Regions from separate parts of the Homo sapiens genome. Here region 1 is linked to region 2. Evidence: promoter capture Hi-C in 16 types of primary human blood cells and fetal thymus (Javierre and others, 2016). All regions are on one chromosome and are shown on one strand. Each heading gives the region's core, a stretch centred on a gene start or on the middle of the fragment in contact. The rest is flanking DNA. Distances are from core to core; before and after follow the strand shown.

The links. Contacts are between HindIII fragments. The CHiCAGO score rates a contact against its expected background, and 5 or more counts as called.
Region 1: a fragment that was not itself captured here is called in contact with the fragment with the promoter of EIF2S3B in region 2 in 1 of 17 cell types (total CD8 T cells); the score reaches 6.0 in total CD8 T cells.

Annotation. Positions count from the first base shown.
Region 1 is chr12:10,362,177-10,366,979 of GRCh38, reverse strand. It overlaps KLRK1-AS1 (KLRK1 antisense RNA 1), which reads right to left and starts at 3,211. Exons shown (of 4, transcript NR_120430.1): 1 at 2,947-3,211. RefSeq lists enhancers at 2,161-2,230, 2,691-2,740. The HindIII fragment of the contact is 1,966 bases long and covers 846-2,811 here.
Region 2 is chr12:10,503,210-10,508,251 of GRCh38, reverse strand. It overlaps EIF2S3B (eukaryotic translation initiation factor 2 subunit gamma B), which reads right to left and starts at 2,362. Exons shown (of 1, transcript NM_001357734.3): 1 at 1-2,362. The coding sequence starts at 2,349. The coding sequence ends at 931. The region is part of intron 3 of LOC105369657 (a long non-coding RNA gene); the gene reads left to right. The HindIII fragment of the contact is 5,298 bases long and covers 2,112-5,042 here.

The DNA.
Region 1 (4,803 bases), core at 579-3,078, 140 kb after region 2:
AGTGGCAGAAACATATCTGGAATATGTGTAAATATTTGTCTTTTGGTCTTTGGCTAGCCAGAGAGCTCTTGTCAGAGCTATTAGTTCTGCTTTCTAAGCAGAAGTTTTTGTAGGCAAAGACTGCACCTCTACTACTGAATCCAAAGTCACCACTGCATACCCAGCTTGGCGGACTCCGTTTAGTATGAAACTGCTTCCATTAGTAAAATATTCAATGTCCAGGTCCCTGAGGGATGTATCTGTCAAATCTCTCTGGCTTAAGAACACTTCATCTATCACATTTACACAGCAACGAAGGGGGTCTCCTGGCACTGACTCGATGAGGAGCAAGGTAGCCGGGTTTAGGGTATTCACCATCTCTAAAGTCAGTTTATTAGCTTCTTGTGCCAGTAGGGCAGTAGCAGCTAGTGCTTTAAAACAAGGAGGCCATCCAAGTGCCACAGAATCTAACTGCCTGGATAAGTGTGTCACTGGGCAATGCCATGACCTTATGGCTTGAGTTAGAATCTTTATGGCCTCCCTTTCACTTGTGGACATTCAAGAAGATAAGCTTAGTTAGTTAGATCTGGCAGTCCTAAAGCTGGGATCTGAGTCAAGGCTTCTTTGATTTTTTGAAAAGCCTTCTTCTGGTTGGCCTCCTAGAGGAGGAGTCCTTCTTTCCTCCTCTTTGTGGCTTTGTATAATGGCTTAGCCACAAGCAAGAAATTTGGGATCTAAATGCGGAAGAACTTTGCTGCCCTTAGGAACTCTGTTATTCGACGCCAGGTGGTTGGAGTAGGAAGTGCACAAACAGCCTGCTTTTGTTCACTACTAAGCCATCTTTCCTCTTGGCTTATGTAAAAGCTTAAGTACTGGACACTTTTCGAGCAGATCTGAGCTTTTTTCTGACCCTTTATATCCTGCCTTTCACAGCAGTCTTGGGTTTCTCCTGGGTGCAGTAGCCCTTGGCCAGTGGTTTTTTCATACCATGGCCTTGACCATTCTCCTTATTCTTTTGACATTTATCCTTCTAGTGTCCTTTTCTTTTGCACCATGTACATTAATCTCTCTCTAGCCTTGGCTGGCTTTCAAATTGCTGTCCAGACTAGCCTTTTCCACAACTGCATTCACACCCGCATCTATGCCTCCTTGCAAAGCCAGCCTCTCTTCCCATAAGGGCTGCTGCTTGTAAATAAGCCTTTATTAAGCCTCCAATCAGCTTTCTTCTTTGCCTCCTGGTCTCAGTTAATGTACACCTTGGTAGCCACTTTAATAAGCTGAGTAGCATTCACACCTACGGAGCTTCTAACTTCTGCAATTTATGCCTGATATCTCCTTGGGCCTGCCTTACAAATGCCGTATTTACTATTCACTGATTTTCAGCAGCCTCGGGGTTAAACAGAGTGTACAAGCAAAATGCCTATAAAACTGGCTGGTGCTTTTATCTGCACCATGGAGCACTTCTGAGATTTTTTTATATTGGTTGCCTTTTCCTTTTAACATCCTTTAGCCTTTGTAAAAGTGCTTCTCGGCACTTTTGTAGGTGCTGAAGCTGGACTGCATCGTCTGGGTCCTAGTGGGGGTCTGCTTGTCCTCTTAAGAGGCAGAAGCATAACTTGGGCATGACTTGACCTGAGACGGCCTGCCTACCTTTTTGAGCCTTTCGTTTTAACTTCCTGGAGCTCCGATTTCTCCTTCTCAGGTGAGAGTGGGAGCATGTATCTGTTTGAACTTACCTCCTTAGGGGCAATTAGCCTTGGTAAGGGGGGATAGATTGGAATATAGGTAGGAAGGATCTCTATTCCATCCTGTGATTCTTGCAAAACTGGTTTTCTCTTTCCTGAGACTCTTTTTTTTTTTTGGTCTGCATAGCTTCCAGGGCAGCTGACTTTCACTTTCACTTTTGGATCGGTGGTGCTAGAAGCCTCTGTGACTTTCCCTTTAACTCCGTAGCTGCCAGCACAGTTGGTTTATCTCGGCGTGAGCTGCGAGCATTCTACAATAAACTGCTAGGCAGGGCTGCGTACATTTAGCCATGAGTCAATATAAAGACTAGGTCTGAATGCCCTGGCTGTCCTCCGACCCTAGTCACCACCTTAAAACACACGGCCAATTTCTCTACAGTGCCTTCGGCCAGCCATCTGACACTAAAAGAGGGCTATTGTAATTCACAGTATGTCTTTAACTTTTGAACATCCAGTTTCATCCCACAATCACCTCTAAATCCTTTCTTTAAAATTTTTATCATGCACTCCAAAGGAGTTGGTTTTGACGCTTTCCCTCCCATTTCCTCCCTTGCGGCACACTCTCACTCTCACTCTCACTTTCACTCTCAGGTCCAGCAGACCCGGTCCTATTACAGGAGTTTCGGACACTGCTTAGCCAGGAAGGTGTCTTCCCCTGTCACAGCCTGCTACAGCTGCAAAGCTCGTCCTATCAGCTGTATGCAATGTCCTAGGTCTGATTTCCCCCCACACTCGCCTCAGAGCACACAGCCCGTGCTAAGGGATCTGTGCCTCCCCACGTCACTCCCTGCATTGGCCTCTCCCGAGACCATCGCTTTCACACACTTTCACACACCTTCCTTGCCCCAGGATTCCTCATTGGACGAAATGAGCCTCTCTCATGTCCCGGGTGAGTCTAGTTAGGCTCCCACTTTCACACACATACACCACTCCTACTGCAGGAGTCCTCATCGGATGGAATGAGCCTCTCTCATGACCTGGGTGAGCCTAGTTAGGCTCCCATATTCACACACATACACACACCACTCCCAGTTCCTGTCTCCAGATCCAGTGAACCACTTTCACTTTGTTAGTGGGGACATAAGCTTCATCCAAATTGGCAGGCCACTCCTGCTGCCCCCAGCCACTCTGGGTTGGATTAGTGGTCAGTCCCTGGGAGGTGATCAAGCTCCCCTTTGTCCCTATGGGACGGGCTTTCCTGCCTTGGGCCTATACTCCTTACCACAGTTCCTGAAGTGCTGGTATCGTCCTGCAGCCCCATCCTCGGTTCCATTGCGCTGCCAGGCAGGGTGCTGGGACGTGGGGAGAGCTGGTCTATATATCCGGGTGAAGCTCAGCTGTGGCACACCTTGGATGCCGGGTCTCTCCTGGCCCCGGGGACCTAGTATCGCAGGCAAAGGGGACAGTAAATCTGTCATCTCCAATCCTGATGAGCCCCCAGAAATGTATCGGGATATATAAGGAATCAGAGAGACCAAGGGATTGAGGAGGATATTTATTATTTAGGTGCACTGGTCCACTTGGATTAACATCCAAAGGACTGAGCCCCAAACAAAGAGTCAAGTTACCTTTTAAGCATTTCGTGGGTGGGGGAAGATTTGTGCAGGGGGAAGCGTATAACAGAAGCAAGAAACAAAGACAGTTATTCAATTGAGACATACATGACATCATTTCTTTTCAAGGAAAAACATGTTTTATGACTTGAGTTTATCTGTCTAGTGACCTTGCAGCTGCACAGCTAGAGAAATAGGGTCTTCATAATGCCTGGGAAAGGGAGAGATAAGGCTCACTAGCCACAGAAAACAGGCAGTTAATTTTTAAAGGACTCCGGCTCTTTCTCTTCCTCAGGGGGGAATTGGGTTTTCTTATATACAACTGAGTTTTTGCTTACACATTCTGTAATTTATTTTAATTCCTGTTCCATGCCAGCCACCTATGCTGCTGTTTTCCCCCTCCTTCCCCTTTCCCTAGGGAAGGGACTGGTGGCAGTGGGGCTATTCTTTCTTCCCCCAAGAAGAAAGGAAAGGGGGGTTCTGAATATTTTTCTTACTACTGGGAGTTTGTGTGAGGTTCAACGCCCCCCTCCCATGGGGATTCCTCACCTCTTTCTGAGGTTCAACCCGCCTCATGGGGATTTCTCACCTCTTTCTGAGGTTCAACACCCCTTCTATGGGGATTTCTCACCTATTTTTAACCTCCAAGACATCCCGACTAAGGAATAATCTACTGACCCTGCAGTTTCTCTCTCCTTGGTACGTCCTAACTAAGGAATGCTTTACCGTCCTGTGGCTTTTTTTTTTTTTTTTTTTTTAGTCCCGATCACCAAGGAAATACTTTATTGGCTCCCACAGCTTCTTCTTTCTTGGCCTGTGCACAAAGTTGTCGCCACAGTATGTGAGGATCCTTTAAGCTAGGTTGCTGGCCAGTTTCTTTTTTTTTTTTTTCTCTCTGTGTTGCTGAGAGTCTGGGTTTATTTGTCTCAATTTGTCATTCCTGAGGGCCCCTTCAATGAGGTAGGGGAGTGCACTCCCTCATGAGAGAGGACTGGAGACCACCCCTGGAGGAGAATGTATCCCCATACAGACTGCCACCAAATTGTTTGAAATGCTTGTTCCCCAGTGCCATAAAAAAATAGCACTTGAACATAGATTTATTTAGTGTGGCCATTTTTTTTTTTTACTTCCTGCAGAAAGGGTATACTCATCAGCAGTTTTGCCACGAGTGTACACCAAACAAAGGAGACAGCATCATTTATAACCTGCCGCATCCACCCTACTGCTGTATCCAGTTTCCATTGACTGGAACAGGACCTCACATTCTGTATTTGTCCCGACTGGCTAGCAATTTAGAACTTTTTAAAAGAGGCAAAGGTAGAGGAGAACAAAGGAAGGAGGAAGTAACTTGTGGAATGCTGAGAAAGGTAAAAACACTTTTAAATAAGGAAGAGGAACAGGCTATGACCTAATGCTTGCTTGGACCAGTATAAGCATGCCAGGGCAAATATTTAGGAGCACAGGTCTTTGAATAAATTTTGCTTCTAAGAGAAGTTACTATTTATTCCTAATTAGTTAGGGAGGAA
Region 2 (5,042 bases), core at 1,113-3,612:
GAAGAGCAAGGGGAGAAAATTATTTGCCCATGGGAACAAGTAATCATGCTCTAAAGGACAATTTCATTCGAACCCATTCGTGCATCCTTTTCATGCAATTCGAACCCATTCATTGCATCCTTTTCATGCAAAATTTCAAAGATAAAGCAACATAAAATATGGGGCCAAAGAAAAGGGAGAAGGTCTTCAAGGATAATTTGTGCCTTTAAGTTTTTACTGGTACAACAGTCCTTCAGCCTGGAGGTACTCAAAGACGAATCATGAAAAACAAAAAAAAACTTTATTTCGAACAGTTTCAGTGATATATGTGTGTGCTACAGCAAAGGCTGGTTGTGGCAAAGTTTCATTTCAAACTGCATGATGTGGGCTAGGCAAGGTGGCTCACGCCTGTAATCCCGGCACTTTGTGAGGCCGAGGTGGGCTGATCACCCTGAGGTCAGGAGAGACTGGCCTGGCCAACATGCCGAAACCCCGTCTCTACTAATACAAAAATTAGCCCCGTGTGGTGGCACACACCTGTAATCTCAGCTACTTGGGGGGCTGAGGCAGGAGAATCGCTTGAACCTGGGAGGCAGAGATTGCAGATCATGCCACTACATGCCAGCCTAGGTGACAAAGCCAGACTCAAAAACAAAACAAAATAAAACAAACAAAAAAACTGCATAATGTATAATTTTGACATTATGTGGGAATGCTTAACTTCTGCCAAAATGTAGATTCAATCCAACATTATGCCAATTTTTATACTAATTGTAGTCCCTAAGTTTTCATAACCAAAAAAAAAAAGAGAGAATAACCTTACCGTTACCTACTAAGGTAACAAACTGTGAAATCAATTCCCCAATATCGCTTTGAAAATAAACCCCTTGGTTGTTAAAGAGAAATTGCAACTTCCAGCTCCATCCGAATGTATTATTTAACCGGTATTCTTCAGTCATCATCTACTGTTGGCTTGATTGTCACTCCTCTTCTTATCTGACCCCAACCAATTAAACGCCAGTGTTTTTCAACTCTTCGGCTAAGGGCAATTTTTTCTCCTACCTCTGTGCACACTGGATTGGTCAAAACAATTTTGCCCAAATCGGCCTTGACAGCACTAACTCTCCCTCCTGTCGACAGGGATCCTATGTTCACCATGAGCACTTCATTCTTAGACAGCTTTTGAACCTTTGCTGCTTTCTTGTCTCCTTCAGTGCGTACACCTAGAAGCCGTCTAAGCAGGAAATAGGAAATTTCCAATTCTGTGAATATCTCAGGTAAAGCTCCGACTGCACCAAGTATTTGCCCCACCATTCTGTCAGCCCGGCACAAAGTGGGGTCAATTTTTGTTCCAACTCCAATAAGACCGCCTGGAGCAGCATATTGCAGATCATTATGCTCCGCAAAAAGTGAAACAATTTTGGAAAAGATTGATTTACACATGAGTTTTCCTTCACTATCTTTGGAAACAATACCAGGTCTTACTTCTGTCTCCTGGCCCACCTTTAATACTCCTTTTAGGATACTACCACCAGCTACACCTCCCTTAAGGTCATCAACTTCACAGCCAGGTTTGTTGACATCAAAAGATCTAATAACAATAAGCCGGGGCTCTGAAGTAAAGTCTCTTGGGGGTACTGGAATTTTCTTTACTATGTACTCACAAACAACTTCAATATTGTATTTCAGCTGAGCCGAAATTGGAATAATGGGAGCTCCCTCTGCTACTGTACCTTGGACAAACGCAAGGATCTGCTCGTATTGTTCTTTAGCCTGCCTTTCTTTTACCAAATCAATTTTATTTTGTAGAATCAAAATATGCTTCAGTTTCATGATCTCTATAGCAGCCAGGTGTTCAGATGTCTGAGGCTGAGGGCAAGATTCATTACCAGCTATCAACAGAAGAGCTGCATCCATCACTGCTGCACCGTTCAGCATAGTAGCCATCAAAATATCGTGGCCAGGACAGTCAACAAAGGAAACATGTCTGACTAATCTGAAGTTCCCTTTGGTTCCTGGAATGTCTGTAGGAAACTCATCAGGCATACTGCTCCCACAAGATCGATAACATTCTGGCCGAGGGCAACTTGGGTCATCAAGTTGATAAATCTTAGCATTAGCATATCCAAGCTTGATTGTAATATTTCTTTCTAGTTCATTTTTGAACCTGACGGTGTGAACTCCAGAAATAGCTTTGACGACTGTGGATTTCCCATGAGCTACATGACCAATTGTACCTATATTAATTGTGGCTTGTCTGCTGATAACTTCGTGTGAAAGTGGCGTCAACTTGGTAACATCCAAGGTGGTGAGATCCTGACGCGAAAGGTGCGGCTGCCCCAGAGTCACCCCAGCTTCTCCGCCCGCCATGTTGCCAAAAGAGGAAGAAAGTCACCCCGGCTGCCGCCTGATCGTCTGCAGGGGTCCTAGTGCGGGGCGGGGATGCGGAGGCCGGAAGGTCGACTAGGGTCTCAGGATGGCCGGTGCAGCAGCGGCCTCAGTGCTTGGACTTCTCTCTGCTTGAATCTGCACAGTGCCTGTCGGTAGGCTTACTGGAAAACACGGTGCAAAGTTGCTGGAGCTATTCGTCGCAGACTTGGTAGATATTTGTGCAGGCAATACTGAGGGCAGCCACCCAAACCCCCGCCCCCTGGGCCCATGCGAGGCGGGTCGAAAATATATTTTCAGTTGACCACAGATAAATACTTAAAAAATTAATGGACCATTGTAATCTATTTATATGAAAATGGATCTTGTATATACAGCCTGCTATTACATTTCTAAGAAGACACAAAACCAGCAACACACTGAATAATTCTACACTAAATATTTTTCTTCTTTAAGAAGATTAATTATTAATATATTTATTTTTTGTTCGAAACAAATAGCTATGTCGTGGTTTATATTATAATTTTCATTTCTTCAAATTATGTTGGAGTGATGACCATTAATAGATGCTATATTGGAGATTTATTACAATAGCTTTATTGAGGTATAGTTTATATACAAAAAAACTGTGCATTTTTAACGTATACAATTTGATGAGTTTGGACATATGCATACATTCGTAATACCATCACCCAATGAAGATAGTAGGCATGTTTATCATCTACAAAGTTTTTCTTGAGTACCTTTATTTTGGGAGCAGAGGGCAAGTAAGACACTTGACATGAGATCTACCCTCCTAGCAGATTTTAAAGTGATCAACGTATTGTTGCTAACTATACGTACTATGTGGTACAGTATATCTCTAGAACTTATTCGTCTTTCGTAACTGAAACTTAACCAATTGAAAGTGAGTCCCTGGTAACCACCATTCTCTGTTCCTATGAATTTGACTACTTTAGATAACTCATATAGTATAATCATAAAGCATTTGTTCTTCTGTGACTGGCTTATTTTATTTAGCTTAATGTCCTCAAGGGTCATTCATGTTGTCATGAATGGCAGAATATTCTTTCTTTAAGGCTGAAGAATATTCCATCATATGTACATACTACATTTTCTTTATCTGTTCATCTGTCAGTGTACATTTAGGTTGTTTAAATATTATTTATTCTTGATAATCCTACCATTGATGTGGGAGTGCAGATATCTCTTCAAGATACTAATTTTAATTCTTTTGGATATACTGTATACCCAGAAGTGATATTATTGGGTTATATGGGTAGTTTTACTCTTAATTTTTGAGGAAGCTCTATACACCTTTTTCATAGTGCATTCTTATCAACAATGTGCTAGGGTTCCAATTTCTTCACATTCTTACCAACATATATATATATATATATATATATATATATATATATATATATATATCTTCATATATATGTATATGGATATATTCGTTTTAAGGAAGAGGGTAATAAATGAAAGTGAGAGGATGGCTCATCTCCTTCTTCTGGGTATATATGAATGAATATATGGATATGTGAATGTATCCATATATATATATATATATATATATATGTAAAATAGTCATCCTAACAGGTGTTAGGTAGCATCTTAGAATATTTCCCTAATGATTAGTGATGTTGAGCATTTTTTTATATACCCACTGGCCACATGCATGTCTTTTGTGGAGAAATGTCTATTCAAGTCCTTCATCCATTTTTTAAAATTGGGCTATTTTTTGTTTTTGGTATTAAGTTGTAGAGGTTCCTTATATATTCTGGACATTAATACCTTAACAGATATGTTATTTGCAATGTTTTCTCAAATCTATAGGTTGCCTTTCACTCTGCTGTTTCCTTTGCTGTGCAGAACATTTTTAGTTTGATGTAGTCCCACTTTATATAATTTTGCTTTGGTTACTTATGCTTTTATGAAAATTTAATGTAATCAAATACATCTATAGATTCAAGGCAATTCTGTTCAAAATCACAATTGCACTTTTTTTTACAAAAATAGAAAAATATTCATTAAACTCATGTAGAACCACAAAAGACACTGAATAGCCAAAGCAATCTCCAGGAAGAAGAACAAGGTTAAACAAGGTTAAAGGCATCATACACCCTGAATTCAAAACTATTACAAAGCTACAGTAGTACTGGCATAATAACAGACATACAGATCAAGGGATCTTTGAGAAATGCAAATCAAAACCACAATGAGATACTGTCTCTCACCAGTCACTATGGTGATTCAAATTTGGCATTTTGATTAAAATGTGAAAGAATAAGAGATGCTGGTGAGGTTGCCAAGAAAAGGGACACTGATACACTGTTGGTGGAAATGTAAATTAGTTAAGACACTGTGGAAACCAGTTTGGAGATTTCTCAACGAACTTAAAAACACAACTACCATTCAGCCCAGTTATCCCATTACTGGGTATATACCCAAAGGAAAATAAATCATTCTACTAAAATACACTGGAATTTGTATGTTTATCACAGCATTATTCACAATAGTAAAGATATGGAATCAACCTAGGTGCCCATCAAAAGTGGATTGGATAAAGAAAATGTGGTACACATACACTCATGGAATACTATGAAGCCATAATAAAGAATAAAATGATGTCCTTCACAGCAACATGGATGCAGCTGGAGGCCATTATCCTAATC